Regions from separate parts of the Homo sapiens genome. Here regions 2, 3 and 4 are each linked to region 1. Evidence: promoter capture Hi-C in 16 types of primary human blood cells and fetal thymus (Javierre and others, 2016). All regions are on one chromosome and are shown on one strand. Each heading gives the region's core, a stretch centred on a gene start or on the middle of the fragment in contact. The rest is flanking DNA. Distances are from core to core; before and after follow the strand shown. Region 1 holds the start of TGFBRAP1 (transforming growth factor beta receptor associated protein 1). Region 2 overlaps NCK2 (NCK adaptor protein 2). Region 3 overlaps NCK2 (NCK adaptor protein 2). Region 4 overlaps NCK2 (NCK adaptor protein 2).

Region 1 (7,226 bases), core at 2,258-4,757:
GCCCCACTTCCAAATACCATCACCTTGAGGGTTAGGTTTCAACATACAAATTTTGGAGGTACACATTCAGATGATGACAGCACTCATAGGTTACCTTTCATCTTTGGGTTCTCAGTGCCTGCTACAACAGCACAAGAACAGTAAGTGTGTGCTGAATGAATACAGATGAATGAACCTTTCCCCATCCTCAGATACTTCCCAACTGAGCTCCACTATCACCAAACTTCTAGAGCACATTATTTTTTGCCTTATGATCTCGTTAGGTGGGTTTTTCTTGCACATACCACACTAATCCAGTGGTCCTCAAAATTGTGTGCCCATTAGAATCCTCTGGAGGGGTTGTAAAAATAGTTTGCTGGGTCCTAACCCCAGAGTTTCTGATTTAGGAGGTTTGGGATGGGGACACCAAAATTTGCATTTCTAACAAGTCCAGAGGTGATGTTGATACTGCTGGCTACCAACTCTACCTTATAAACCATTGCCCATTAAACTCTTGAGGGTAGAGACTGTCTTCCTCATTTCAGTATCTGCTGAAGCCTCTGGCATAGTACCTGGCACATAGGAGCTGCTAAAGAAGTAGTTGATTGAACAATAGTTCAAAAAAGTTTATTTTACTGAAGCTAGATTACAAGTATATGAATGTGTGTGTATATGTGATTAAATGAGCTATTACATGTAAAAGCTCTTAAAACATGGCACATAGTAAGCTGTTGCTTTAAAAAAAATAAAAAATGTAACCTTTCTTTGCTTATATTCTAAAATGACACCAACCATCCTACATGTGTGCTCTTAAATAGCTTATATATTAGAATAATGGAATCTTAGTACTAAAGGCTGGATGTGGTTGCTCATGCCTGTAATCCCAGCACCTTGGGAAGCCGAGGTGGGTGGATCACTTGAGGTCAGGAGTTCAAGACCAACCTGTTCAATATGGTAAAACCCTGTCTCTACTAAAAATACAAAAATTAGCCCTGCGTGGTGGTGCATGCCTGTAGTCGCAGATACTTAGGAGGCTGAGGCAGGAGAATTGCTTGAACCTGGGAGGTAGAGGTTGCAGTGAGCTGAGAAGATTGTACCACTGCACTCCAGCCTGGGCAAAAGAGACTGTCTAAAAAAAAAAAAAAAAAGTAATCTAGTTAATATTTCAATATTGAGCATCAAGAATTTTTAAAAATTGGTTGAGTGTTTTCTACATGCAGAAAGATACAGCAGAGAGCATAGACACAATCCTTGCCCTCCCAAGCGTATACCCAGCGAGAAAGTGAGAAGCACAGAGTATGTGTAAGCATAAAAATACTAAGTTTTGAGAGTAGACAGCAACTATGAAAATATTCAGTTATATCGATGCAACTCAGTCTTCATTAATTGTTCTCATCGGAGCACATCTTTTTCACATTCTGTAAAGTAACGCTCGGTATGGGCCCAAGGAATATTTAATAAATATTTAAAAATGAAGTTAATAATTGTTTTGAAAGCCATATGGTTGATATTTCTTCTTAAATGTAACCAATAGAAACAACATAAGGAATTTGGCCTGTGCATATATTTGCACATTTATGGTACAGGCATTTACATGGAGGTGCCTGTCATTTGTGACACAGACTTCTCATCAAGTTTCAGAAGGAACAGATGTTTCTAGATGGAATAATATGGAGCTTGCCATTGTAAGAATCCTGTAATAAATCCTTTCATAAAATAAATATATCTGAATTATCTCTTGTTATACATTTTCACTCCTGGATCATCTAAAGTAGAACACAAAGATTGTTCATAAACTATTCATTCAAAACAACTTTATATAAAAAGAATTACTGTTGCTGAATTCTGGATTCTTATTGTTGCTCTTTCTTACTAGCATGGGGTTTGGGACAAGTCACCTTTTTAAATTTTTTTATTTATATTTTCCTAAGTGAATTAACACAGGAAGTCATTCACCTTTCTTTGCCTCAAAGAATTAAATTTATTCTTTGACGCTATTAAGTAAATTAATAGCGTCTACTTCATTGCTCAGTCACTAGCAGTTTCTGAAGTCACTGTCTGGCAGTCAGTAGATATCACCTCTGTAACTAGTCTTGTGCAGCTCTCTGTGATGTGATCTGGTAGAGGACTAAGATACAAAAGCACAAGGGTGAATTCTAGGACCACCTGAGCCAGTGATTAGTTGATGACAAGTCACATAGTCTCTGTGAGCCTGGGTAAAATGAAGAGACTGGATTTGCTCTTGTACCTTCCCAATCCCTGGCTCCACTAGCTGTTGGCCACCTTAGACTTGAAGGTCCATTCACTGCTGCTTGCCCTTGAAGCTCAATTGCTGGTCAGAGCTTTACACTCCTGGGAAGCCAGTCCCCTACCTGGAGGCTGAGCCGGTGACACTGGTTCCACTGGGTCACAGCTGAAGCACCACTGGGGATGGGGCATTTATGTGGCCATGAGTCACACTAGGGTAGGGGTAGAGGGCAAGTCACAGGAAGATTGTTGGGTTTTTTTTTTTTTTTTTTTTTTTTGGCCAGTTTCTTTTCTTTCTTTTTTTATCCCTTTGAAACAGAAGACCATGGCGTACAATCTGGTATCTGCCTTCAGGGTTGGGATAATATCTTTGTTTTACAATACTCAGAGTGGCTGGAAGAAAGCTGAGGCCACAGGTCACTAGCAGGTTCTAAAGTCTGAAAATCCCTGGGAAAATTTGACTTTTTATATGCTAATAATTGAGTACTGACAACTCTGGAGGGAGCTTTCCAATTCTTCCGTCATGAAAGTGGACTTTGTATACTAAAGAGGGGTTCATGGATTCATGGTAACCTACAATTCTTCCTTGCGGCCTGAACCAAAGGAATAGCAGCTACAGTTGGGTTTTCCTAAAAGGAGTAAGATAGTCCCAGGCCTCCCTTCTCAAATAAGTGTATCAAGCAGGTGGACTCTGCCAGTCGGGGGTCCCGGTCAATCCCTAGGGCCCTGGGGCGCCATGGGCCTCGTGGGAGGGCTGCGCATCCCAACCATGCCTTCGTCTCCTGGTGGGGCACCGGCGGTACGTCCGATCCTCCAGCCCGCGTGGTCAGGCGGCCGCGGGCCCAAGCATTTCCCAGGGCCCAAGCATTTCATTCATTTATTCATTCACGCAGCAGGTATTTCCCGGGCGCCCTCCTCCTGTGTAGGTGACAGAAACTGGGTGGCGAGCGAGCCAGGCAAAGCCCGGCTTCCCTGAAGCTCCCCGCAGCGGCGGGGGCGGAGAAGAGACCTCAGCCCCGCGGGCTCGCACAGCTGGCGCGGACCACGCTCTCGCCCGGGGCCGGCGGCCTCAGCGCCCCCCGAATGAACACCTTCCGCCCGCTGGCCGCCCCGCGAGGCGGGCCGTGTCGTGGCCCCGGTGCACGGAGGGGGACGCCGAGGCCCGGAGCAGGGCCCGTCTCGGCCTGTGCTCGGAGCCAGGCGGCAGGGCCCGCGGGCCGGCGGGCGGCGCGGAGACGGCTGCGCTCCCGCCCTCCGCCAGCGCCTGGCGGCCGCCCCACGTGACGGGAAGCGGCGGCTGCGGGGTCGGGCCAGCCCAGGAGCCGCGGGCCGGAGCGGGGCGGCGGGGCCCCAGGCCGCGGGGCGGCGCGGGACGGCGGGCGCCGGCGCCGGTGAGTGAGGAGGGCGGCGGGGCGCGGGGTGCGGGGCTCAGGGCGCGGGGCGCGTGGGGCAGGAGGGCGGGGAGCAGGAGTGGGGGGTAGGCGGCGGGGCGGGGTGGAGGGCGAGCCCGTGCGTGTGCGCTGGGGCAGGTGTAGTGGGGGCTGGAACGCGGGGTGGGGGGAGCAAGTGGCTATACACTTGGGGGCAGGTGTGCGGGTGTGCGACTTGGTAGCTGTCCCTTGTGGGGGCCGGCTAGCCTGCTGGGGTGAGCAAATAAGTGTTCACGTGTGTGTGGGATGAAGTGTGCACGGGTGTGGGGTCAAGTGTGTATGTTGTGTGTGAGGAGTGCGTGTGTGTTTAGGGCAAGGGAAGACCTGAGAGACCTCGTCCTTGATTTGGGTTTTCCGGGGAGAAGGGCCAGGAAGGACTTGCACCTCCATCCCTGGTATGGAATGGTTTTGGCGCTGTGATTGAGGTTTCTGGGAGCTCTTTGGATTTGAGAGCTCAAATTCGGGTCACACTCAGGCCTGAATTGTCCTGATCTGGAGAGTAGGCAGGGGTGTGTTGGGGAGTAGGGAAAAGTGCTGTGCTGGGCTTCCTGGCCCCTGTTTTTAGCACCAGGTCAAGGGCTGGAAGCTGTCATCCCTGTGGAATTGTTTTCTTTCCATTGCCTTCTGGAGGTGCAGGTGCAAGTTAGTCCGCCTGCCTCCCTGTGTTAAGTGTTGATATCCTTAAACACGGAAGCTGTCCGGTTGTCTGCACCTGCCGTGGCTTCTACCCAAGGACTGTTGAGTGACCCTCAGGAAGCCTCCTACCTGGCTGCTAAAAATGGGGGCTCACAGATCACACAGCAGGCCTTACTGCACGTGGACTGCACGCGCAGCTGTGGTCAAAACATGTCTGAGCAGAGTTTAATCACTGATGAAGTGCTCATGGGCAAGCACCTTGTCTATCAGGAAGGAAGGCAGCTGCGGGTGTGATTGTGGTGGCAAGTTAAGGCACTGAGAAGGTGTGCAGGGAAGATCCTACTGCGTTGTGTGTGTTGGCTTGGTTGGAGTCAGGATGAACGAATGTAGAGGGACTGTGTGGTGGCTGCTACTCTCTCATGGTGGACATGCTTCTCTCTGTTGGTCAGCCGGAAGCTGGCAGACAACTGAGAGCTCGCAGTTCCATGGTCAGTCAGAAGGAACATTTGGTCAGCTGCTTCCTTTTCTTTTTCCTTCCATTTCTGCCAGCCGAGCAGCCTCAACAGTCATTGCAGCTGCTTCTGTGATGTGTAGCAAAACGCTGCCTGGAGTACTAGAAAGTCTACTGGCTGGAATCTGCTGGAACCTGTCCATAACTAGCCTGCCCCAGGTCATCTATGAAATGGGAGTGATGCTCTGTGGTGGTAATGAATGTGGAGTGTGGGTTCAAATCCTGCCTCTGCCATTTCCTGTGACCTTTGGGCAATTTGCTGGACATTCTGAGTCTCAAATTCCTCCATCAAAATAGGGATAATATTAGAAAAGGCACATGAATTCTAATAAGAAATTGTGCCTGGAAAGGATCCGGCACAGGGTCTGGCATTTAGTAGGTGCTCAATAAATTATTGCTGACAAATATAAATGAGGATGTAGAGCCAGGTCTCCCTCAGCTCTGAAAATATGTAGTTTTATGTTTTGAGTAATTGTTAACCTAACAAATGATTTACTCTGGAGTTAGACTTGTGGGTTCTGAATTCCAATTTGCTATGTGCATCAAGGTTTGCATTACACAATTGAATTGGGTGAGAGGTGAGGTGCCACTGTTAGCCTTCATTCACTCTGCCTTTTCTTCTACACTCATGATTGTGCATGGCAGTCCTCTTGTCATAGCATTGGAGGCAGAGCGTTTTCACCACTGCAGGAATCCCAGGACCAATCTAACCTCAGCTTAAACCCTCCAGAGACAGGGATTTGTAAAGGGCCCATTCTTCATTTAGGCAGCTCCAGTTGAGGAGTTTTAAAAGCATAGAGCTCACTATTTTAAAAATGCTATATTTTCTTTTTGTTGTTGTCTTCTGGGTGGTTTTTTTGCTGTTGTTTTTGAGACAGGGTCTTGCTCTGTCACCCAGGCTGGAGTGCAGTGGTGTGACCATGGCTCACTGCAGTCTTGATCTCCCAGACTCAAGGGATCCTCCCACCTCAGCCTCTCAAGTAGCTGGGACCACAGGCTCGCACTACCACACCCAGATAATTTAAAAAATTTTTTTTGTAGAGATAGGGGTCTCCCTGTGTTGCCCAGGCTGTTCTCAAACTCCTGGCCTCAAGCAATCCTCCTGTCTTGGCCTCCCAAAGTGCTGGGATTACAGACCTGAGCCGCTGCGCCCAGCCAAAAAACTTGCTGTATTTTCTGGGTCTGATATGCAGCTAACATTTCTGTTAGGAAAAAAAAAATGAAGTTATTTGGCTTATTCCTTCATGCTAATATTACAAATTTGTGATCTTTTAAGAAAACTTGAAGAAATTTTACTTAATGGGTTAAGTGTCTTCATCTTGGTCTGAATCCAGCCCTCATTAGAAATACATTAAAGTAGTCATTTGTGGCAGCCAGGTGTTTGGATACTGCCGAATAATTTGGCTCAGACTTTACAACTCATCTCTGTAGCAAACCTGACTCGTTTTTCTTTATTTAAAAAAATAAATACCTACTAAATGAATGTAGAGTAACAACTTAATTTGGTGCTACCCCAAATGACTTTAAGTGCCTCATGAAAAGTGAATTATGAAATCTTGCAGATGATTTGAAATCAAGATCTTTTCTTGATAGTCAAGTAACTGCTGTTGAAAAAGTTAAAGATTTAAGGAAAAAATCACATATTTAAAGATGACAACTGACTGGATATTATGGACTATCAAGTCCTGTAGGTACTCAATAATTTTTTTTTTCTTTTTTTGAGACAGGGTCTCACCCTGTCACCCAGGCTACAGTACAGTGTCGTGTTCTCGGCTCACTGCAACCTCCATCTTCCAGGCTCAAGTGATCCTTCCACTTTAGCCTCCCAAGTAGTTGGGGCTATAGGCACATGCCACCATGCCCGGCTAATTTTTGTATTCTTCTATAGAGACAGAGTTTCACCATGTTGCCCAGGTTGGTTTTGAACTCCTAAGCTCAAGCAATCCATCTGCCTCGGCCTCCCGAAGTGCTGGGATTATAGGCATGAGCCACTGCTCCTGGCCAGTACTCGATAATTTTTTGTGGCTGTTTGAAGGTTCAGTATTGAGGAAGATGTTATGAAGTAAATGCCATATTTCTATTCTGCTCTTCTTCTACCTCCCACTTCTCTTCCTAAACCCTTTTAATTCTAACTGCTGATGGTACTCTTATAGGATGTATATTATATATATGTACATACACACACACATACACCCTTATGCATATGTATGTATACACACACCATATATAGTATGTGTATATATGTGTGTGTATATAAATATATGTTTATATGTATTTAAATAATTTTGATTAGTATTGCCCAGTAAAAAGGATACCAACTATGAATAGTTACATATATTAAATATACATCATGATAATATTAAGATGACAAGTTAGATATTAGACCTTAACTGTCTTTTTTTAATCCTCTTTTTTTAGATACT
Region 2 (7,226 bases), core at 3,734-6,233, 480 kb before region 1:
TTCTAAATACCACACATCAAAGGGGCATAACTGAAATTGAAAAGGTTCCAAGAGATTTTTCTTTTAAGGTGGTCGAAGAGAAAGAACATATTCACAAGATGTGTTTGTAGTAGTAGCAGACCAAGTAAGAGGAAATTCTAACTTTTAATATTAAAGGAGAAAATTTCCAGAAACCACCACACCAAAAGATTCCATAGTCCAACATGATAGTTTCAAGATTACTTTAAAACAATCTGCAAATAATAGAAGCAAATTAAAGTTTTTTTATACAAATGTCCACTGTAATATTCTCATTTGCTCTTCATACAACCAGAAGACATATCACCTAAAAGTTGGACACCAAAACTAATTTAGGTTATGCTTTGATTAAAATTTGGTTTGCTTTCATACTTGATTTAACAATCTTTTCTATTTTGTTCTGTTAAATATACCATGTTGGAAATATATATTTCTTATAAGCTGATAGTAAGATGTACAGGAAAAATCTTACAGTATAAGGAATAAAATCTTTTTATATATATATATTTTTATTACACTTTTAAGTTCTAGGGTACATGTGCAAAACGTGCAGGTTTGTTATATATGTATACATGTGCCATGTTGGTGTGCTGCACCCGTTAACTCGTCATTTACATTAGGTATATCTCCTAATGCTATCCCTCCCCCCTCCCCCCACCCCAAAACAGGCCCCAGTGTGTGGTGTTCCCCTTCCTGTGTCCAAGTGTTCTCATTGTTCAATTCCCACCTATGAGTTAGAACATGCAGTGTTTGGTTTTTTGTCCTTGCGATAGTTTGCTGAGAATGATGGTTTCCAGCTTCATCCATGTCCCTACAAAGGACATGAACTCATCACTTTTTATGGCTGCATAGTATTTCATGGTGTATATGTGCCACATTTTCTTAATCAGTCCATCATTGTTGGACATTTGGGTTGGTTCCAAGTCTTTGCTATTATGAGTAGTGCTGCAATAAACATACGTGTGCATGTGTCTTTATAGCAGCATGATTTATATTCCTTTGGGTATATACCCAGTAATGGGATGGCTGGGTCAAATGGTATTTCTAGTTCTAGATCCCTGAGGAATCGCCACACTGTCTTCCACAATGGTTGAACTAGTTTACAGTCCCACCAACAGTGCAAAAGTGTTCCTATTTCTCCACATCCTCTCCAGCACCTGTTGTTTCCTGACTTTTTAATGATCACCATTCTAACTGGTGTGAGATGGTATCTCATTGTGGTTTTGATTTGCATTTCTCTGATGGCCAGTGATGATGAGCATTTTTTCATGTGCCTTTTGGCTGCATAAATGTCTTCTTTTGAGCAGTGTCTGTTCATATCCTTTGCCCACTTGTTGATGGGGTTGTTTTTTTTCTTGTAAATTTTTTTGAGCAAATTAAAAGTTTTTAAGGAAAGCTAGTGTTATTCTTGCAGTTCATTCTGAGACAAAGCTCTGGAGGTGAAAATGTGTCTTCTCATAAAGCACTTCTTACTGCCCAGCCAGAAAGAGAACACCGGATTAACTGGACTACAAACAGCAATTCATATTTTAAGTTAAATGTCTTAAGATGTTAGGGCTAAGAAATATTTTTGTTGCACAGTGACATGTTTTTGTCTGGTGCCTGTGGTGATAGCACCACTGGGTCCCAGAATCCACATGTTGCATCACAGTTATGATTTTATTGTAACATACACAAGTAGGTTTTTCATATGAACAGGTAAAACCTTCCTGAGAATCCTTCATCTGTCTGCATCTCATTTGATGTAGGTTTTTTTTTTTTTTTGAGACCAAGTCTTGCCGTGTTGCCCAGGCTGGAGTGCAGTGGTGTGACCTTGGCTCACTGCAACCTCCGCCTCCCAGGTTCAAGTAATTCTCCTGCCTCAGCCTCCCGAATAGCTGAGACTACATGTGCACGCCACCATGCCCAGCTATCCTTTGACACAGATTTATCTTCTCAGCATCAAAGCTGGAATCCAACTTTTCCTAGACTGAAAGCACCAGAAAAGTGGTTATTTATCCTTATACTCCCTGTCCCATACAGAATACAGGGACCAGGATTCGTTATGGATTCAAGAGTCAGTAATATCTGAGTGTGGAGGTACCTGTACCATCTTACAGGTTGTAGGTGTCTACCATCCTGCTTCCTGGCTACATACTCAGAACCATCACACACTAAAGCAGGAACAGAGATAATCTAATTTTCTCCCTCATTGAAAGCTTAAATTTAATGTGATTCAACAAATCAAGGCTACACTGACTGATATTTTACTAAACTTACTGTCCAAATTAAGCATTTGAAGCAAAAAGCTGCAACTTCTGTTTTAAGCAGAAAACTGCAGACTTACCTTTGGCACACAGTTGAGAGGTGACTGGCAAAACGCAGAACTCTTCAAAACGATGATGTTTTCAGCTAATTACACCTCTGAAGTTACAAAGCTGCAGGGATTCTCCAAATCCTCAAATCCAACTCAAATCTCAGCAGAGAATTATAATCTGGGACGTCGCTTGTATACAAAGAACACATGAAATCTAAAAAGAAAGAAGCATATATTAGGTCTGCTTGCTTCTTTGATTTTAAGTAACCACTTTTAAAAATAACTGGTTATTTATTTGCCTAAAACTAATGGGTTTTTTTGTTATTTATTTATTTTTTTGAGACAGGGTCTCCTCTGTCACCCAGGCTGGAGTGTGGTTGTACGATCTTACTTCACGGCAACTTGCACCTCCTGAGCTCAAGTGATCCTCCTGCCTAAGTCTCCCCATTAGCTGGGACCACAGGCATGCCACCACCCCTGGCTAATTTTATGTATTTTGAAACCAATGTTTTAAATATATCCCAGATTAAAGCTGCTCTGTGCCTAAAGACCTCCATCAACACACATGTACTCCCTCTTCCCACCTTTCATTCCCTGGGCAAGCTCCGACACTCGGGTTGGGGAGGGCCAACCACACACCCGGTGAACAGCAGGTGGAAGGAGGTGATGGGGTGTGGGGGAACAGCCAGCCCATAATCAAGGGACCTGAGCTCCCAGTCTCTTCCAGACTTCCTCCTCCCAATGAGCCCCACCTTTAAAAGCCTCCCAGAAATAAAAGGGAGTCTGCCCATTGGAAAGGTGGCCAGTCTGAGAGTCTAATGACGGAGAAGGGTTACAAAGGGCATGGATATTGTTTAGAGACTCGTTCCTCTCTTGGAGGTCTGTTGCACCAGCCATTTGTTGAGAAGCCACCAACCGGACCCATAGCCTTGGGCTAAAAAGCACCCCTAGTTTCAAGACTTCTGAGACGAACACTCCAAAACTAGAAGGAAGTTAAGATGAGAGGCACCTGACAAAGGTGACCAGCGCCCTCCTGGTTGTGGAGAGCTGGCAGCTGCGTTATGTTCACTGCACTTGGTAAGTATTTTCAGTCCTTGACTAACGTTTTCGAGGGGACCCTGGAGCACTCTGTGGACTTCAAGTGAGTTCACTGACATTTTTAATTACATTTCAAACCCAATGGGGATCTGTCTTGACAGTTCACTCACAGAAGATCTATTAATTCATCCCTAGCATGATTATGATCCAAAATGTTAAATACCCCATAGAAAAATCGAATTCTATTTTAGTCAAAGATAAGAAGATAATTCAAATAGGGCTATCATAAAAATGTTATAAGGCAAGTTCATAAATTTTGATTTAAAAATTAATTCCTTTTTATGTATTCTCTAGCACTGTTTTAAAGGCCGCATCATTTTAATACAGATATAATTTAAGGCAAGGAAAAGGTGATGGCCAAACACAGTGGGAATACATCTTTGGGCAAGAAGTTCAAACGTATACTAGGCAGATTGCCCTTCTCTCTGTTAAGTGTTTATAATAAAATGACAGGTCCTCTCGAGATGGAAGTATTGGAATCTGAACTCAGTTCTTGACCAAGAGTTCTTGTTTCTCATGCTGACACCACTGAACATCAGCAAAGGGCAATGTGCTGGGTACCATGCCCCAAACACCACCTCTGTATGTGTCATTTTCAGGGGCTATTATAAACGTTAAGTTGTGTTGTTAAGATTTTAACTGGGAAGTGAATTTGCCCAGAGTCTGCCTTCCACAGGCAAATGCAAGGAATTGTTTTATGCAGTTGTTTGGGCTGTCCAAATACAGGCCTCCCCCCTGTGTGCCCTGTGTCTCATGAGTAATATGATTTAATCCTTCTGATACACTGCCAGGATGGATTCTAATGCCCAAATGTACAGAGGAGTTCACTTTCTCAGTGACACTAAAGGTTTTTCCCAACCGACTGGAGAGTGAGGAATCACTTAGGCCTTGGACTCCGGATGAGTGGGCTTTGCACATCTCTAATCTCTTCTGCATGCGAACAGAGGAGAGACTCCTTATGCCAACAGCAAACCAAAAGCCTGAGCAGCTTCTCTACCAGACCCCGCAAAAGAACAATGAGCTGGATTTAGAACTTGAGTCCTTTGATACTAGGCACAGTGGGCAAGTCAGAACACGGCCTCTCCAAGCACAATCAGTAAAGGAAAAGCCAGACAGAACGGAGCAGGACTTGAACTAATGCAGCAGCTCCAACAAAAGTGAGGCTACTGAAAATCCATTGAAAGGTGCCAGTGGCCATCTGGGATTCAAGTGTAAAACGTGAAGGTTGCATGCGATGTTTTCCTTGAGAAAAGCATTCCACTGACAAACTGTCAATGTGTTAAGTGTACACCCTAAGTAGAATAAAACATGGTGGTCAACATCTCTCTCTCTGGGTTTAAATGAAGACTGCCCAAGTTTAACATGGGGCTCTTAGCTTATTCAAAACCTGTGTTAAGGAAGAGCATTTCAAAGCAGGTCTTAATTATAATCAGTGATCGAAATCCATCAGGAAAGTATACACTTTTGTGCAAAAAACAGTATCAGCCTGAAAGATAAACACCTATACGGTCACTTGGACTGTAGAAGGCCCTCACCAAAGGATTCAAGGATTTTCTACAGCCAGCTTCAGGACAGGAATATACAGAAGGAGTGTGTGCTTTTCTCTAAAAGTACTTCACTAGCACTACGTGCATCTCCCTTTAGAAATAAAGGAGGGAGGGCTGGAAGGCAATTAACACTGATACCGTACGTATCTCTTCATTTTAATGTGGATCCTTAATACTACAAAATTTTACCACTGCAAAATCCAAGGGATTATCTGAATTCTCTGTAACCTTAAAATTTGCTTTTTTTCCACTAAAGCCACAACCCAGGGTTTTCCAGTGTTTTCAGCAGCACTTAGCTGCAGTGTTGGGCGAGTGTGCTGAGCACTGCCAGGCCACACTACTTGTCCCAGGCGCAGGGCCAGGCAGTGAGATGCCCCCCTGCAAGCAGTCGTGGCCGATTCTGCATCCCCAATGCCTGTGTGGTGCTGGCGCAGTGTCTTCTGCTGCACCTGGGCTGGTTTCCTCCAACTATCAGCATCTGAGAGGGAAGTCCAGTGATGAGGTCCCTGACTAAGGCAACTCCAGAGGAGCAGTTCAGGGTTAAGAAGGGAGTTATGAGCCTTGTTCTGATGACAGCCCAAGGCTGTGAGCTTTGTGGACATAATACCACTGGGTGCTGTCACTCAACCTGTTTTTGAGGTGGCCTATTTGTCCAGAAAACTGAAGTCACCAAGAGACTAAAGTCAGCCTTCAGGAGGCTCAGGGAATCCCTCCTCTCCCACTGTCCAAATGATAGAAACGGTGACAGGCTGGGAGAAGAACATGTTCTGATTCCAGTGAGACACTCGCCGTGGCTTCACCTTAGCATCAGCTGCAAGAATCGTCACAGCAACCCTGGGAGATACATCTTATCATTCAGCCCAGGAACCAAATGACCAGATGTCTCACAACCAGAATTTGAATGCACACTTGTCTGATTTTAAAGCCAGAGTGCTCCTTCTCCTGACAAAGATCACCACGAAAGGGCTAGAACCTTGACAGTCGCATTCTGCAAATCGCATCTGCTGATGCCATCTGTCTGGGGTATCTGCCACCCTGGGTGGCCGGCTCCAACCTCTCAAATCAGCTAGGAACCATGTCAGGCTACATCAAGAAGCAAGCCCATGAATGTACACACACCAAGTTTGTTTTCAACGTTACTGCTTCTCTTAGATGTTAGCACAGGAGGGAAAAAAAAAAAAAAGCCTTGTTGAATAGTGTCACCTGGCTTCAGTAATGAGCAGATGTTGGACTCGGGTGTGTATCATAACCAAATCTAATCTGTGTTACACATGGAGAGAACCACTCCAGATCCCTAGTCTGTAGCCAGAGCTAAGGCAATTGTCCTTTTCCTTTTATTTAAAAAGAAAAACAAAAAAGCATGGATTAGCATAGGCCTCAGAGCTCTCAAATGCCTTGTCTTACCCTTCCCTCCTCCCTCCCTGACCAAGGAGGCCCAGCAGAGGCCTGCAAGTGGATCTCCCGTTCAGAGTACGGAGGCGGCAGTGCCAGCCCAACACAGCACGGGGTCAGCGCTGTCTGAGGGAATTCTGGCAGAGCTAGCTATATTTCATTCCTAGTGAACCACTTGGAAGAGAACCTTATTCAAGTGGGAAAAGGCTGGTTTCAGATACTGAACAAAGCTACACAAGTTTCTTTGAGTGGTTTGGCCAAAGTTCAACCCATGTGGACTGATACTGAGCAGCTTAGATGTGTTTATCAATCCGAAACTCAAAGGTGTCCAAGGAGATGACCTCAGCTGTCTCTTAATCATCCAGTGCACAGTGGTTCCCAGGCAGGGTTTAGAAACAGCTGAAGCAGCTTCAAAAAGCCTCACTGCAATTAGATTTTTCACTCAAGATAAAGCTGTCCTGAAAAGTAAAAGTATCAAGTTTTTCTGCACTAGGCTGAAATTATATCAATTCCATATATTAATGCTGGTTAGTAGGTTAATTAGAAGCTGATTAATGAAAACACGAGGGAAAAAACAGAACTAATTTCTAATTCTCTAGAAAGCCAAAGAGTGGCCAAGGCAGGTGTTTGCAGGAGAAAAGTGACTGATTAGAGTTTAAGGTCTGTCAGTTCTAGGTTCTGGAATAATGATTTCTGCCTTCAAATACTCCAGAACTGAGAAAAGAAGGAAATAGCAAGCAGTAGGTCAATCGATGGGCGAAACCCCTATTAACTGTACTAGGGGAGGCACCAGGTTCAAGAGGCTGAAGAGATCCAGAGCCAGCCAGGGTTTTATTAGGGGCTTACAGAGAAGGGAGAGAGTCCAGTGGCAGCGG
Region 3 (7,226 bases), core at 3,496-5,995, 470 kb before region 1:
TTCTGCGTTTAGAAAATTAGAACATTTGCCTGTCTCCAATCTTCTGACACTTCTCCTCTCCTTCAAGACCCCTCAAAGAATACTAAAGGGGCTTCTGCCAACCACCTGGACAGGCATGTAATCCCATGGAACCTCGAGCTTGGATTGAAAAGCAGCAAGGTGCTCTCCCACTCACTTTTTCCCATGTTGAGCTTCAATTCCTTCTTCACGACATTTGTTCTGAAGCCTCTACTTTCAAGATTCTTCTTTTTAACAAACAAAACAAAACACAGACGTTCATGACAGTTGATCAACTGTGCTCCTGCAACTGGTCCCATCAGAAACCAAGCACCAAACCCACTCTCTCGGTCCATTTATCTCAAACAGACCAAAAACAGGATGAATGTTTCTTGTTCTTAGGCCTTAGTAGAACTTTGAGACTAACCCCATGTCAGCTGGGTTTCCGCCTTCTATGGGCTAATCACACACACATATGCCACTCTTACGTAATCCTGAATTGTATTCTATTTTCCTTGGCCTCCAGCACTCAAGTTTAAAGCTCAGGAACTGTGCACCTCAGAATTTCATGCTCTAAAGAGGAAAGGAAACAGATGAATGCTAATGGCAATCATTTACCAACCCTATCCTGGGTACCACAGACCAGACTAGGCCCTCTTTATGCACTATCTCAATCAATCTTTACAACAAGACAACACCTCATTACCCCGTTCACAGCAGAGAATTAGGTGGCGTGCACAGGGAGGACAGAGAACAAGGTGTGCAGTTGGAACCGGAGCCTGGGGACTCAGGATCCCTTCCTTGGTGTTCACCCTGGGCATGTGGCCCCCGTGCCGGAGACCAGGGAGAGCCAGACTATACGGTGCAGCCAGGCTACATGGCTGCACTGACCCTCTCTTCTCACAAAGTAAGGGCTCAGGAGGAAAACTGTCATGGTCTCTGTCAAATGCTGGTGCAAAGACACATCTAATGATACCACATGAACAAAGATGGTGTTTCCAAATGACAGATTTCCTTATTACCAGAAGCTACGCTGACCAAAGGAAACTCTTGGGAGGGATTCTTACAAACTTTGCAAAATGTAGTGTTTGAGTGTTTCTCTCACTGTTAAAAAAAAAAGTTATGTCATTAATGATTTTCAATCAAATTCCCTGATCCTGTCTCCATAGCCAAGAACATAGTGGCAAGATGGCGGAGGGGAAGGCCAGGTAAGGACCAATGGCTTCTTGAAATGGATCTATCTTAACCACTTTTAGGCTTGAGGTAGAGGGAAGCATCCCTCCATGCCAAAACAACCCAGTGACCTCTGGGCTGCTATTGTACCATTTATGTAAACATGGTAATTAGCTTTTTATAGGCTTTCATATAGTGGTATTCCGTTTTGTTTTTCTGCTTTAAAATAGGAAGTTTTCAAATAACTCATCAGCTCGTGTTTGGTGTGGCAGATAGACAGACTAACGAAACACTAGGAAGCAGGAACATGGGAAACAGACCCAGAGGCCTCTGGGAATTCAGTGTATGATAAAGGCACTATCTCAAGTCAAGTCCCCAGGGAAGAGACAGCCTTCTCAATAAATGGCCATGGGGTACTCTGGTTGGCCATCTGAAAGAAAGCTGGAGCCACATCTCACGCCCACAACAGGATAAATTCCAAAGGTATCCAAGATTTACAATGAAAAAGTAAAAGTATAGAAGGACATATGGAAAACACCCTTTATAACCCTGAAGGAAGAACTTTTTTTTTTTAAACCTAGGACTCAAATTCCAGAAACCATAAAAGAGGGATGAATTCAACTACATAAACATAAAAAATTTTCTTACATGATAAAATATACCACAGATAGATTCCAAAGACAAATAAAAAGCTAGGAGAAAACATTTGCAACTTAGGACACGAAGGACAGACAGGACACAGCGAGAGCTTCTTAAATAAACTTGACACAAGAAAAGACCAACACACCAAGAAAACCGTGGGCCAAGGAAAACCAGGTAAGAAAATATAAGGCCTTCAAACTGATGAAAAGGGACATCTGAACTTCACTAAAATGATACTAAGATATCACCTCTCACCTTTCAGACCACTGGAGATCAGAAAGTGTGATGACAACAACCTGGTATAACTTCCTGATTTTCAAAACTGTGCTGTGGTTAAGATGTTAACATCTGAGGAAGCTCGGTGAACAACTCAGAAAAATAAGGTAAGAACATTTTGTATTAATTTCCCTAAATGTATTTATCTATGAAGAACCACAGCTACTGCTTTGCTGCCTGGTTCATCTGCTTCAAAATAGACACCCACAGTTTATTTTCATTCTGTTGAGATTCACCGTCCACATAAACTTAATCACCAGCAACCTCAGTGGGTTCACCACAGGCTTCCCCCATCAAAGTAATGCATACATTTTGTCTTTACTCCAAGCTTACATGTATCTTTGGGGAACTTCACTATTCATATCTGATTATATGAATCAGATATGGAAGATGAAAACAATTTTAACCCTTATTTCTTCTCTCTAAACCAGACCCCAAACTGGTTCACTGTTTAAAGTGTACAATTCAGTGCTTTTTCTCATTGTTAAAAGCTAGACTTGTGGACAGATCTCTTCATTTTATAAAAAGAAAAAAGGAGAACACTGAAAGAAGAAAAAAAAATGACTCAGCTAACCCAGTTTCAAGAATATTCTGGATGTACAAACAAGAGGCCACAGTGAGGCTATCCGGGCTCCCAGGATAGGAGGGAGGCTTCCCTTGAAGTATGGTTTTGGCTAACTTATTTCTTACCTACACGTTACTCTTTCAAATACATTTTTTCAACAAAATCATCATATCAGAAGAAAACAAACATTACAACAAGCGAACATTAGCTCCTACTCCTTTCATAGAATATTAAATCCTAAAGATACTTATGTTCAAAAACACATCTTCTGGAAGTAGGGGATGATTTAATATTGAGTCTAAAATAGATGGATCAAAACCATAAATTAATAAAAATGTGGTTATAATTTTCTTCTCCTAGGAAATGAACCAAATTAGATCACTATAGCTAGTCAGCCCACAGTCAAACCTGACTTGGGACGATTAAACACTTAAAGATCTGCTGTTAGTGCCGGTAGCTTAAAAAAAGTTGCGAAGCCATAAATTAACAAGCAGAGTCCACACCAAATTGCTGAAAGGGTTTTTTTTCTGTGCCAAATTTACAAACTGGTTTTCTAGAAGCATCTTGTTTCTACAGGAGGACAAAAGCTGACAGGAGGCCACAACATCAGGTGTTTTGTTTTAACTGATCATGGTTACGAAAGACTTTGCATCAGCTCACTAAGCCTAAACAGGGAGGCTCCACACAGTCGCTGCAAATCCAGCCACTTCCTGCCTCACTGTTACCATACTCATCTCCAAAAGGCCACACAGGGACTCCAACCAGACCAGGCTCCACGCTCCATTCCAGCCATCCTGACCCTAAGACGCTGTCAAGAGAGCAGCCTCCCTCACATGGGTGCAGAGAATTTAAGAACCTCCCTTCTGCTAGCCCGCACAGCCTGGCAGCCTGCTGCTTGGCCATACTGGTTTTTTCCCCCTTAGAAAGACCTGGATACCATTTCTGCCCTTGCATTGCACAATATGGAACCGCATGGCTGGCAGTCTCTTCCGGTCCTAGAACTGTGAGTTCAACACACACCACCCAGAAATAGCACAAATTGGTTATTTCCTGTGCAGAAAAGAAAAATCAGCCAAGGCTTCAGAATCCCATTTTAAAGGTTCCCCTTAAAACACTAGTATAGGAGCTGAAATAGGGGTGTCCTTTCTAAGATCCTGAATTTGGCCAGACAGAAAGGATTAGAAATCAATGTCAACTTTTTTCTTGTGGGTGGGGGAGATGCTGAAAGAAAAGATGGTGGTACAAACTGTGAGTCAAAGGCCTAAAAAGGATAATAAATTTTTATGTCTTAGAGACATAAAGTTAAAATAAAAAAGGGACTGTGATGACTAAATCCATTTCTGCAAGACTATGCTTGTAACCATCATCACAGCAAACACTCACCCCAGCTAGGGGTACTGAACCAACCACAGATAAGTGCTGACACTTACAAGTAACATGCTTAATAAAATTTATTTTATCAAGACAACTCCTGAGAGGGCAGACTAACCTGTGAACTGTCACCACTAATGTCTATAAGTGTTCTAATTATATATATTTCCTTTCCATGGAATCAAATGTATACTGCATTTACCTGCGTCAAAGAGAAATGCTTAGTTATTTTTCCAATTCATTTAATTTATCTGATAGAGGTATGAGAAAGTACAAGGGAAAAAAAAGAAAGGGAATAAACATGATGCCGAGAGCTTCTGGAATAACACTAAACTACGGGATACTCTTCCTTGCCAAATGCAAAAGGAAGAAAAGCACCATCTCCAGCCTTCCAGCTCCCAGGCTCAGTCCAGACGCTGCCGATCTGAACACCTGCGTTCTGTGCCACACACTCATGTCCCCAGGCCCTCTCTGCAACCGGTGCCAATAATACCCCATGTGCTCCCTGCTCCAATGCCCCCATTCATCCATATTTACATACATGACCCTTAAAACAGCAAAACATTGAATTGTTCACTCCTCTTTTTAGTGGAAATTGAATATTTCTTAAGATCCTAAAGTGAGGCAACAGGAAGTACAGAGATAAGATAAACTGACACTAACCTCCAGCACTCTCCTGTGTGCCATCAATGACAAAACAGCCTTGCAAGAGCAGCAAAGCCACCACTCTGCCCACCAGCCATATATACTTACACACGCCTGCAAATGATTGTCTTTCAACCCTGAAGCCACAGTGCCCAGAGGGCGGCCAATACAGAGACTATCAACCTCAGTCACTTTCAACCCTGAAGTTGGTATTCCATGTGCATGCACCTAATAAAATTCTGTCTTCTTGGGACCTGTATCATAAAGCAGAATTAGCTTTCCAAAAAAAGTTTGACTGCACATATGATTTATACCAGAGCAAACTACAATAGAGCTTTCAAATGCTAAACTGTTTTGCTCTTTTTACAAGACTGGTAATAAAGAATATATCGTTGATGTGTTTCATTTTAAATGATTCATGTTTTCCTAAAGTCCTAGATGTAAATACCTAGTTTTACTGAAAAAGACTGGGGGGAGGGTGCGTGGAAGATGAGAGGAAGCGGCGAAGGAAGGAAGTTAGGGAGGAGGGAGAGGTCTAGAGGGAGGAATAATGACTCAAATACCTGGTTGAACATGAGCAGTGTTTCTCACCAGGGGCATACAGACGTTTCGGTAATTCTTTGTCGTGGAGCTGTCCCCTGCGTTGTAGGATGTTTAACAACAATCCACACCCTGCCTAAATTGGTGACAATCAACAACGCCTGCAGACACTGCCTGCTGAATATCCCTTGGGGAATGAAATCACCCTGGCTGAGAACCACTGACGGAGCATACATGTAAACTAAATAGACCAAGTTTGTTAAAGCAAAAATAAGACAGGAATATCCATGTATTTTCTAACTCTTTTGGAATATGACTCAAATATTTATGCAGCAGTTTTTATAATTACCCGTTTCAAAATAACTAAATAAACAGGCCCATTCAGTTTAACTCAATATCATGATTAAGTTACAATATACCATATAATTAGAAAACCACCTTTGACCTCTTGCTTGGGAAAAGTGTATAGAGTATGCTATTGCTTATTTGAGGAAAAAAAAAATTAAAAATATATCACTGTATACACATATGTGTTTGCTCACATTAAAAAGCAATAATTATTATTATACATTTGTCCAAACCCATGGAATGCACAACGCAAAGAGTGAACCCAAATATAAACCCTGGACTTTGGGTGATTGGTTTTTGTCAGTGCAGTTTCACCCACAGAAACAAATGCAGCACCCTGTCGGGGATGTTGCTAGTTCATGTGGGGGAACTGGATATATGAGAAAACTCTGTACCTTCTGCTCAGTTTTGCTGTGAAACTAAAACTGCTCTAAAAAATAAAACTTTTTTTAAAAAGCAAGAAATAAAAAGGGGAAAGAAAAAAACATCTTTAAAAAATGGTGATGGAAAAGAGTAGGGAAAAAAGAAGATAGAGAGAGTAGTCATACAAAATAATCATTCTCTGGACATAACCATCTTTGGCTGCGGAACCATGCGAACAGTTTAGATAATAAACTATTCGGGAGGCTGAGGCAGGAGAATCGCTTGAACCCAGGAGATGGAGGTTGCAGTGAGCCAAGACTGCACCACTGCACTCCAGCCTGGGTGACAGAGCAAGACTCCGTCTCAAAAATAAATAAATAAATAAATAAATAAATAAAATAATAAACTATTAACTTTTTTAAAGTCCAAAAATTAAAAGCAGAATGAAACAAACTAAACTATAAATTGAGTTGGTGGCTTAAGTACAGAGAGGAATTATCCTGAAAGACTTTGAAATACAATAATTGGACTGTATTTCCCCTGTGAGATAAACCCTAAGGACAAAAACATTTTCTGTTGTTTTCAGTACTTATATGGTTTGCAATTATATTGGTGGGGTTATTTTAAACATTTATATATATTGTATATAAATAAAACACACAAGCAAGCAAATAAGTCATTACGTAAACGATCCTAGGGACAAAGATTTTCAGCATAAAGGAAATATAAAATCAAAGGATTCAGCCAGGCATGGTGGCGCATGCCTGTAATCCTAGCACTTTGGGAGGCTGAGGCGGGCGGATCACTTGCGGTCAGGAGTTTGAGACCAGTCTGGCCAACATGGTGAAATTTTAGAAAATTCTTCTAAAAACACAAAAATTAGCCAGCGTGGTGGCAGGCGCCTGTAATCCCAGCTACTTGGGAGGCTGAAGCAGGAGAATCACTAGAACCTGGCAGGTGGAGGTTGCAGTGAGCCAAAATGGCGCCACTGCACTCCAGCCTGGGCGACAGAGCAAGATTCCGTCTCCAAAAAAAAAAAAAAAAAAAATCGAAAGATACAATATTTTAGAATCCTAATTTTGAGTTATAAGTATCAATGTGAATTTATAATAGATTATGTTTAAAAACAAACCACACCAAAGAAAAAAAGCTTTTATCCACTGAAAAGGCTCAGACACAATGACCAAACCAGAAGCAACCCATAAACAGTAGTGGTCCCCACAGTTCTTTGAAGGCACGCAGACCCCAGCTGGGGTAGGCACTGTCTAAAGGAGCCTGAAACCCCCACAGCTCCCTGCTTTCCGGT
Region 4 (7,226 bases), core at 1,429-3,928, 430 kb before region 1:
AAGAGTCTCGTTCTGTCGCCCAGGCTGGAGTGCGGTGGCATGATCTCGGCTCACTGCAACCTCTGCCTTCTGGGTTCAAGCAATTCTCCTGACTCAGCCTCCTGAGTAGCTGGGACTACAGGCACATACCACCACGCCTGGCTAATTCTTTTGTATTCTTTAGTAGAGACGGGGTTTCACTGTGTTGCCCAGGCTGGTTTCGAACTCCTGAGCTCAGGCAATCCGCCTACGTCGGCCTCCCAAAGTGCTAGGATTACAGGCGTGAGCCACTGCGCCTGGCCTCAGGTTGCTTTTAAGTGATTTTCATTTTATGCAACTATGTGGAACACAGTTATTAATATATTACTTAAAAACAAACTTGAGACATAGTAATCTACGTATTTCCTTATTAACACACCAAACGAGAGGGTAGCAGCAGTGCTAATAACAACCATAATTTGAGAGCAATGATAAAAGCAGTCACTCTTTCAACACACGTGCATCACTATTATGTAACAGGAAAATAGTGACCATTTCTCTGATGACTGTAAATGCTATGGGCTGTGCTACCTACATTCATGCAGGAAGGAAATACTGAATTTCAGTGAAAAGCTGGTGGAAATAAGGATGTTTTTTCCCACCCCAAAGTTCACAGATATCCTCCATGCACTCACCACCACAGGCCCATGGTTCAGGACACCGTCTTTAGGAAATCACTCAGAACTTCACACTACGTCAAGACCCTGGGACATGAGCTTCAGCGAATCTCTAGATTCCAGAGTCCAGACTACAGAAGAGACAGACTGAACCCCTTTCAAAGCAGAGGGCTCTTTTGTTGCTGTGAATCCCAGGAATGCCTGCTGATGTGAGGAGGCAGTCTGACAGCAGGAAGCGCCCGGGCCTGGACCTAGACCCCCCCTGGTTTGATGCTCTGCCCATTAGCTGCCTGTTTCCTCGGCAAGGCCTCTTTCAACTTGAGAGTTGAAGGAAATCTTCGGAGATCACCTGGTTTAAGCCCACTCTTACGCACAGAAACTGTGCTTCTCACAAGCTTCTTCTAAGGAAAACCCAAGAGCAGTGCATTCCACAAACTCTGTCCTTAATTTTCTAGCAAAGCGAAAGTCCTTGTTTTCAGGTCAAGTGATTCATCTACAGAAAGCCACCAAAACCCACACTTGCAACTGTAGTCAACGCAAAAACTTAGAAAAAGGACAAGATATTTTTAAAATGTATCAAAAATCCGCAGGACAAAAGAGAAAACATAAACTGTAACACAGAGGCAGAGATTGAAAAGAAAATAATGTTCAAAAGGGTCAGCGCACATGTCTGTATTCAGTCTTTTTTGGTCTCACTGTCATATAGGCTGGAGTACAGGGGCCTGATCACGGCTCACTGCAGCCTGGACCTCCCAGGCTCAAGTGATCCTCCTGCCTCAGTCTCCTAAGTAGCTGGGACTACAGGCACTTGCCACCATACCCAGCTCATTTTTTTGTATTTCTTGTAGAGACAGGGTTTCGCCATGTTGCCCAGGCTGGTCTTGAACTCCTGGGCTCAAGCAATCCTCCCACCTGAGCCTCCCAAAGTGCTGGGATTACAGGCATGAGCCACTATGAGCCACTCTGCCTGGCCCAGTCATTTTTTAATAAACAAAATGCATTATTATAAATTATATCTATGTGAATGAATACAACAGAGTCTCTCTCATCTGTGTATAATGGTTTGGGAAGGGTGGAGCAGGAAGTAGTGTCCCCCCACCTGGCCTTCCACCCAAGCCTGGAATCGTCCCATCACTAGGAGGGAGAAGGCAGTGACCAGAAAGAGAAACAGGCTAATGGCCTTAATTCTGACTTTTTCTGTACCCAAGAGAAAGGTGAGCCACTCTTCTCCCTCCCAAAAAAAGATTCTCTGGAAGTCAGTCAGCCAGGAGTTAAAATGACCACTTCAAGACCCTCCCCACGCCAGCTTCTGAGCCAACGCCTGCCCCGTCCATACCACCGCTCCCATACACACCCAAACCTCCCAGCACCCGGGTAGGGCACAACCCTGCTGCCCAGAAGAGGCCCAGTAGGGTGGGCGGGCAGGCACACCAGCATGGCCTCACAGCAGACTCTGGCCCCCATCTATGAGAGGAGAATGCCTTCCTCAGACACTGGGTCGGGACCACTTCCTGAGCCCAGTCACAGACCAGGGCTTCCTCAGGCGGAAGCAGGATGAGGGCCACCCAGATCCCAATCCCAAAGAAACTTCTTCAGGCCACTGCCCTCCCACTTCAACCAGGGAATGTGCCCAAGAGCTAGGGGTGTCCCAAAGCGCAAGGCATGACACATGTAGAAACTATGAAGATTTTTCGGTGATTTTTTATTTGCTCAAACCTGAACACAGTCCACGTGGGGTCTCGGTGTCTCTGCCTCTCTCTCTCTCTCACATGTGACAAAACCATTTTCAGAGAAGCCTGGCATCTAGGGACCTCCCTACTCTGGCCCTGACTGGCCTTTCCACAATAGGGTTCTCAGCTGTAACTGGTTTCTCCCTTCACTGGAACTCTGGGCCCACCAAAAGAAGGATGAAGTTATCCAGAAAGCAAAGACCCTTGGTTGATACAAAGGGAGCCTCAGATGGAGAGATCCAAGAGGTGGTCAAAACTGTGGGAGAAGTGGTTACACGGGGAGCCTTAGAGCTAGGTGCCACCAGCAGGGAAGAGGTGTGAACGGCAAGGATGGAGGTGAGGGCCTGACTCCTGGCCGGCACACCTGGGGTTCAAGTGCTAATCCACAGCAGAGGCTCTCAACTTTGAATATGCATCAGAATCACCTGGGGAACTCGTGCAACAGGAAGAATTCCAGACCAACCTATCCCACGCGGGAAGTCAGGCAGTTCCCCGGAATTTGCATTTCTCCACAGCCCAGGACCACATTCTGGAAACCCCATGCTGGGGCACCATCCTATCCTATCACCTCCTCCGCAACAGTGCCAAGGGGCTGTCTGTGCCACAGTGCCTTCTATCCCCACTGAAAATCTTGGTCCCTTTTGGGAGAATAGATAAATCTGTCAGATAGAATTCTAAATAACTAATGTAAATACAACCCCTACAGGAGGTACAGCTGAACTCCCTCTTCCTTAAATGACCTCCTTCCAAAGACTGCAGCAGTATGGAAAGAAGGGAAAAGAGTCACTTGACAGTGGAGTCACTTGACAGTGGAGTCCCCTGACAAACACTACCTGGGCCAGGTGATCAAGATCAACATCAACCATCATAAGCCACGCTGATCACATGGACCCTTGATACAAAATGGCACATTACCTCGGTGGCCTTCCTCCCCAAACCGGTAACTCTACACTAATCATGAAAAAACATCTGACAACTCTCAACTGAGGGACAGTCTACAAAACACCTGAAAAGCAGTTTTGCTCCTCAAAGCTGTCAAGCCATTAAAAACAAGGCGAGTCTAAGAAACTGTCCCAGATCAGAGGCGCTACGGAGACTAAAGGAAACGTGCCCTGGATGGGATCCTGGGACAGAAAAAGGATGTCAGGGCAAATAAACTATGGACTTAACAATAATGTACCAATACTGGTTCATTAGATGTAACCAATGTACTATAGTAACGTAAGATGTGAATCACAGGGGAAAGTAGACACAGTTTATATCAGAATTCTCTGTATTATCTTTGAAACTTTTTCTGTAAATTTAAAATCTATTCTAAAATTAAGCGCTTACTTAAAAATATATACCATATGTTTTATTATATAAAAGCCTGTATGCATAGGGTAACATGGTTGACTTTCAACAATAACAAATTACACTTTGGAAACGTTAAAACACTGTGCTCAACAAAAGGAAATAAATACCCCTATTGATCAGCTTAATACACGAACGTGAGGGTATTACATGGCTGAAATGCAATACAATTTTCTGCTTTCCCCAGAGAACGTACTATGTGTACTTGAATACGTAAAACGATATACTGCATGTGTTTATAAACAAACAAAAAATCTTGCTCCCTTGAATAAGACCAAATAAGGACTTAACACGTGAAATTCTCTCCTTCTGAAGGCCCAAGAACCAGGAATCTAGGTATTCGATCAACCTTTAAAATTTTATCAAACTCAGATCTTAAATTATCATTATTTGCAAATTAAGTTCATTCAAAACACTAAGCATTAATTATAGTCTATCACTAATTAACTATAGTAAATCACCAAAACCATTTTACTTTAATCCATGTCACCAAAAGCTAAGGGAAATGTCTGCTGGTTCAGTGTCAAATAGAGGACGAATCACTAATAATGATTTTACTAGTTTTGAATGCTAGCATTAATTCAGTTTCAGATGTTAAACAAAGCTTAAATGTAAACCCTGAAATCAGTTCCAACCTTTGGAAAATAGTTTTGTAACAACTTACTGTCAGAGCAGTACAGTAATTTGGGTACTGGGTAGAAGTATCAGTCTTGACTACTGTGTAGAAGTCAAGAATTTCAAACACTGCATTTAAAAAATACAAAAACGGGACGGGCTCAGTGGCTCAAACCTGTCATCCCAGCACTTTGGGAGGCTGAGGCGGGTGGATCACAAGGTCAGGAGTTCAAGACCAGCCTGGCCAATATGGTGAAACCCCGTCTCTACTAAAAATACGAAAATTAGCCGGGCATGGTGGTACGCACCTGTAGTACCAGCTACTCGAGAGGCTGAGGCAGAAGAACTGCTTGAACCCGGGGACAGAGGTTGCAGTGAGCCGAGATCAAGCGACTGCACTCCAGCATGGGTGACAGAGCGAGACTCTGTCTCAAAAAAAAAAAAAAACAAAAACAACAAAAACAAACATCTACAATGGAGTAAGAAATAAACTAAATTTCCAAACACAGTTCAAATGAAACCATCAATAGGATAAAACAAACCTGTAAAATGTGTGCACAGGATTGATGTGCAATATTCATTACTAATCCAAGAGAAGTAATGTGATTCAATTACTTACATCTCTATATCAAATGTGATGGCATAATGGCTTTATGCCATTATCAATTAAAAAAAAATAAGGAAGTATTAGTGTGCTACCTGAGACCTGCATTCCACTCAAAGCGCCAAGTAGTTTAACTCATTTTTAAGAGATAAAGCTCTCAAGCAATAAACAACATGTAAGTAGAGTTCACATTACCTGAAAATTGACCCACAAATCATGTGTTCATCCTAAGCAAACTAACTGAGCTTCATCCAGGCCCTGGAATAATAACACCCACCCTGGCATGAGAGAATAGAGGTGCTTCACCCCAGCTGTGGTGGAGACCTGGCTTACAACTGGCATGTGGAATGTCTCAGCTCAGGTGACAATTCCAGTATCTGGGAGTTGCCTGTGCACTGAAGAGCTTCTGAGGATCTTGAAGAAAATATTATCCTCCAGAATGCTTCAAATGAATTCTGCCTGGCCTTGGGGGTTGGGTTAGAGGTTAGAGGGGGACTTCCCATATGTGCTTCCCCCACCCAGAGATGGCGAAAGTTATTTTCCATACTTGTTAATTAAGATTACAGTGGACTGTGAGCTTGTAAGATCTCCACACTGGTTTACAGGCTCCCCAAAGGCTGGTGTTTGTCTGGTTTGCTGTGGTTTTCCCACGGCACCCAGCACAGTGCCTGGCCCATGGCTGGTCCTATGTAGGTATGAACTGCAGGTACACAACTGAGTGAAAACATAGCCAGGAGAACAGTCTGACCTGTCGGTGGCAGGATGAACAACGTAGCCTTTCTACATCTCTGCACCCATATACTTCCAGCCCTCCTAACTACACTCAGAGAAAAGCAACAGCAACATCAATTTACACATAGATCAGTTCATCCCATGCCACTTTGAAGAAAAAAAAATCCCTAATAATCAAGGACCTGTCCCATCTCAATTTTAACACAGCGAAAGTTGGGGCTATAAAAGGTTGTGAAAGTACATTACAGGCAACCCCTAGTTTCACAGAAGACAAAACAGAGGTCAGGAGAGTTTAAAACTTCGCTATGCAATTTTAGCCAAATTAGTAGCAAAGGAAAAGGAGACTCATCTCTATTCCTCGTAAGAATCAAGATTGTTGAAGTTCAGATTTACATGAGCCATTAATAAAGTTCAGAATGGGGCCAGGCGCGGTGGCTCACACTTGTAATCCCAGCACTCTGGGAGGCCGAGGCAGGCAGATCACCCGAGGTCAGGAGTTCAAGACCAACCTGACCAACATGAAGAAACCCCATCTCTACTAAAAATACAAAATCAGCCGGGCATGGTGGTGTATGCCTGTAATCCCAGCTACTCGGGAGGCTGACGCAGGAGAATCACTTGAACCCAGGAGGGGGGAGGTTGTGATGAGCCAAGATCGTGCCATTGCACTCCAGCCTGGGTGACAAGAGCGAAACTCCGTCTCAAAAAATAAAAAGTTCAGAATGATACTGTTTGAATCCAGCTCCCATTGTAATGGAAAGCCAAGCAGTCACTGCGTGAAGGCAAATGTTTTGAGGGACGAGGGGACTTCAATAACATCAATACAAAGCCAGAATGAAGTCCAGGACCTGCTGCTCTGGAGCTGGGCCATCCCACATACCACACTGCTTGGGCCTGACATTCCCCCATGGCCACTCACCACAGGACCCCAGTGGGCCAGTCAGTGTGCCCTGGTGAGGGACCCACACTTTCCTCATCTAAAAAAGGGATAATTAACAACACTGGCCTCCCTCTACCTGACAAAGTTAGAATCAAATGATACAAGGTGTGCAAGTAATAAGAGAAACACACATCGTTCCAAAGTTGCAACTTCAGAACTTTCCAGTCTGTGCAAAGAATTACTATTAATTTCTCACAGGTCTTTCTCAGTCCATATGAGATAGGATGACTGAAGAAAGGGAAAGATTGATTGTACTTTTAACTATCTCCACCAAGGAAAGCTCAAAATTATGCAAAGTGATGATTTCGTGTTTATCCTAGAAACAGCACAGGAAGAGAGGGGTAAGAAACAACAAAGTCAAAAGGAAGAATAATGGAACAGGAAATAATTTAAACAAAGCAGACAGTGAGAAGACCAAGGGAACTTCTAACTGACAGCTCTCTTCATCTCTAGGCTGATCCTACTTGATCAAGTAAGGGCCTGTTTTAAAGAAAAAAAGAACATTCAGACAGCAACGTCATATGCTAGGCCAGGTAACAGGCAGCTTTGCAGACACTGGAAGTCAGCGACTAACAGCCAGATTAGAATTTCCCCTTTCCTTTTCCCTTCGTAAGGTC

Evidence for each region. Contacts are between HindIII fragments. The CHiCAGO score rates a contact against its expected background, and 5 or more counts as called.
Region 2: a fragment that was not itself captured here is called in contact with the fragment with the promoter of TGFBRAP1 in region 1 in 1 of 17 cell types (neutrophils); the score reaches 8.5 in neutrophils.
Region 3: a contact is called between a fragment that was not itself captured here and the fragment with the promoter of TGFBRAP1 in region 1, in 1 of 17 cell types (neutrophils). The highest score is 5.3, in neutrophils.
Region 4: a fragment that was not itself captured here is called in contact with the fragment with the promoter of TGFBRAP1 in region 1 in 3 of 17 cell types (monocytes, megakaryocytes and neutrophils); the score reaches 5.9 in monocytes.

What each region holds. Positions count from the first base shown.
Region 1 is chr2:105,326,016-105,333,241 of GRCh38, reverse strand. It overlaps TGFBRAP1 (transforming growth factor beta receptor associated protein 1), which reads left to right and starts at 3,507. Exons shown (of 12, transcript NM_004257.6): 1 at 3,507-3,617. It overlaps C2orf49-DT (C2orf49 divergent transcript), which reads left to right. Exons shown (of 2, transcript NR_187479.1): 2 at 1-1,713. RefSeq lists a silencer at 3,193-3,622. The HindIII fragment of the contact is 18,854 bases long and covers 1-7,226 here.
Region 2 is chr2:105,811,732-105,818,957 of GRCh38, reverse strand. It overlaps NCK2 (NCK adaptor protein 2), which reads right to left. Exons shown (of 5, transcript NM_003581.5): 2 at 2,345-2,528. Among named protein-coding and RNA genes, the nearest start is that of NCK2, 70 kb to the right of the region's middle. RefSeq lists enhancers at 5,956-6,456, 6,457-6,957. The HindIII fragment of the contact is 5,530 bases long and covers 2,219-7,226 here.
Region 3 is chr2:105,793,788-105,801,013 of GRCh38, reverse strand. All of the region lies in intron 1 of NCK2 (NCK adaptor protein 2), which reads right to left. Among named protein-coding and RNA genes, the nearest start is that of NCK2, 52 kb to the right of the region's middle. RefSeq lists an enhancer at 1-93 and silencers at 284-343, 364-453. The HindIII fragment of the contact is 4,654 bases long and covers 2,419-7,072 here.
Region 4 is chr2:105,755,968-105,763,193 of GRCh38, reverse strand. All of the region lies in intron 1 of NCK2 (NCK adaptor protein 2), which reads right to left. Among named protein-coding and RNA genes, the nearest start is that of NCK2, 15 kb to the right of the region's middle. RefSeq lists enhancers at 326-1,171, 2,063-2,142. The HindIII fragment of the contact is 3,292 bases long and covers 1,033-4,324 here.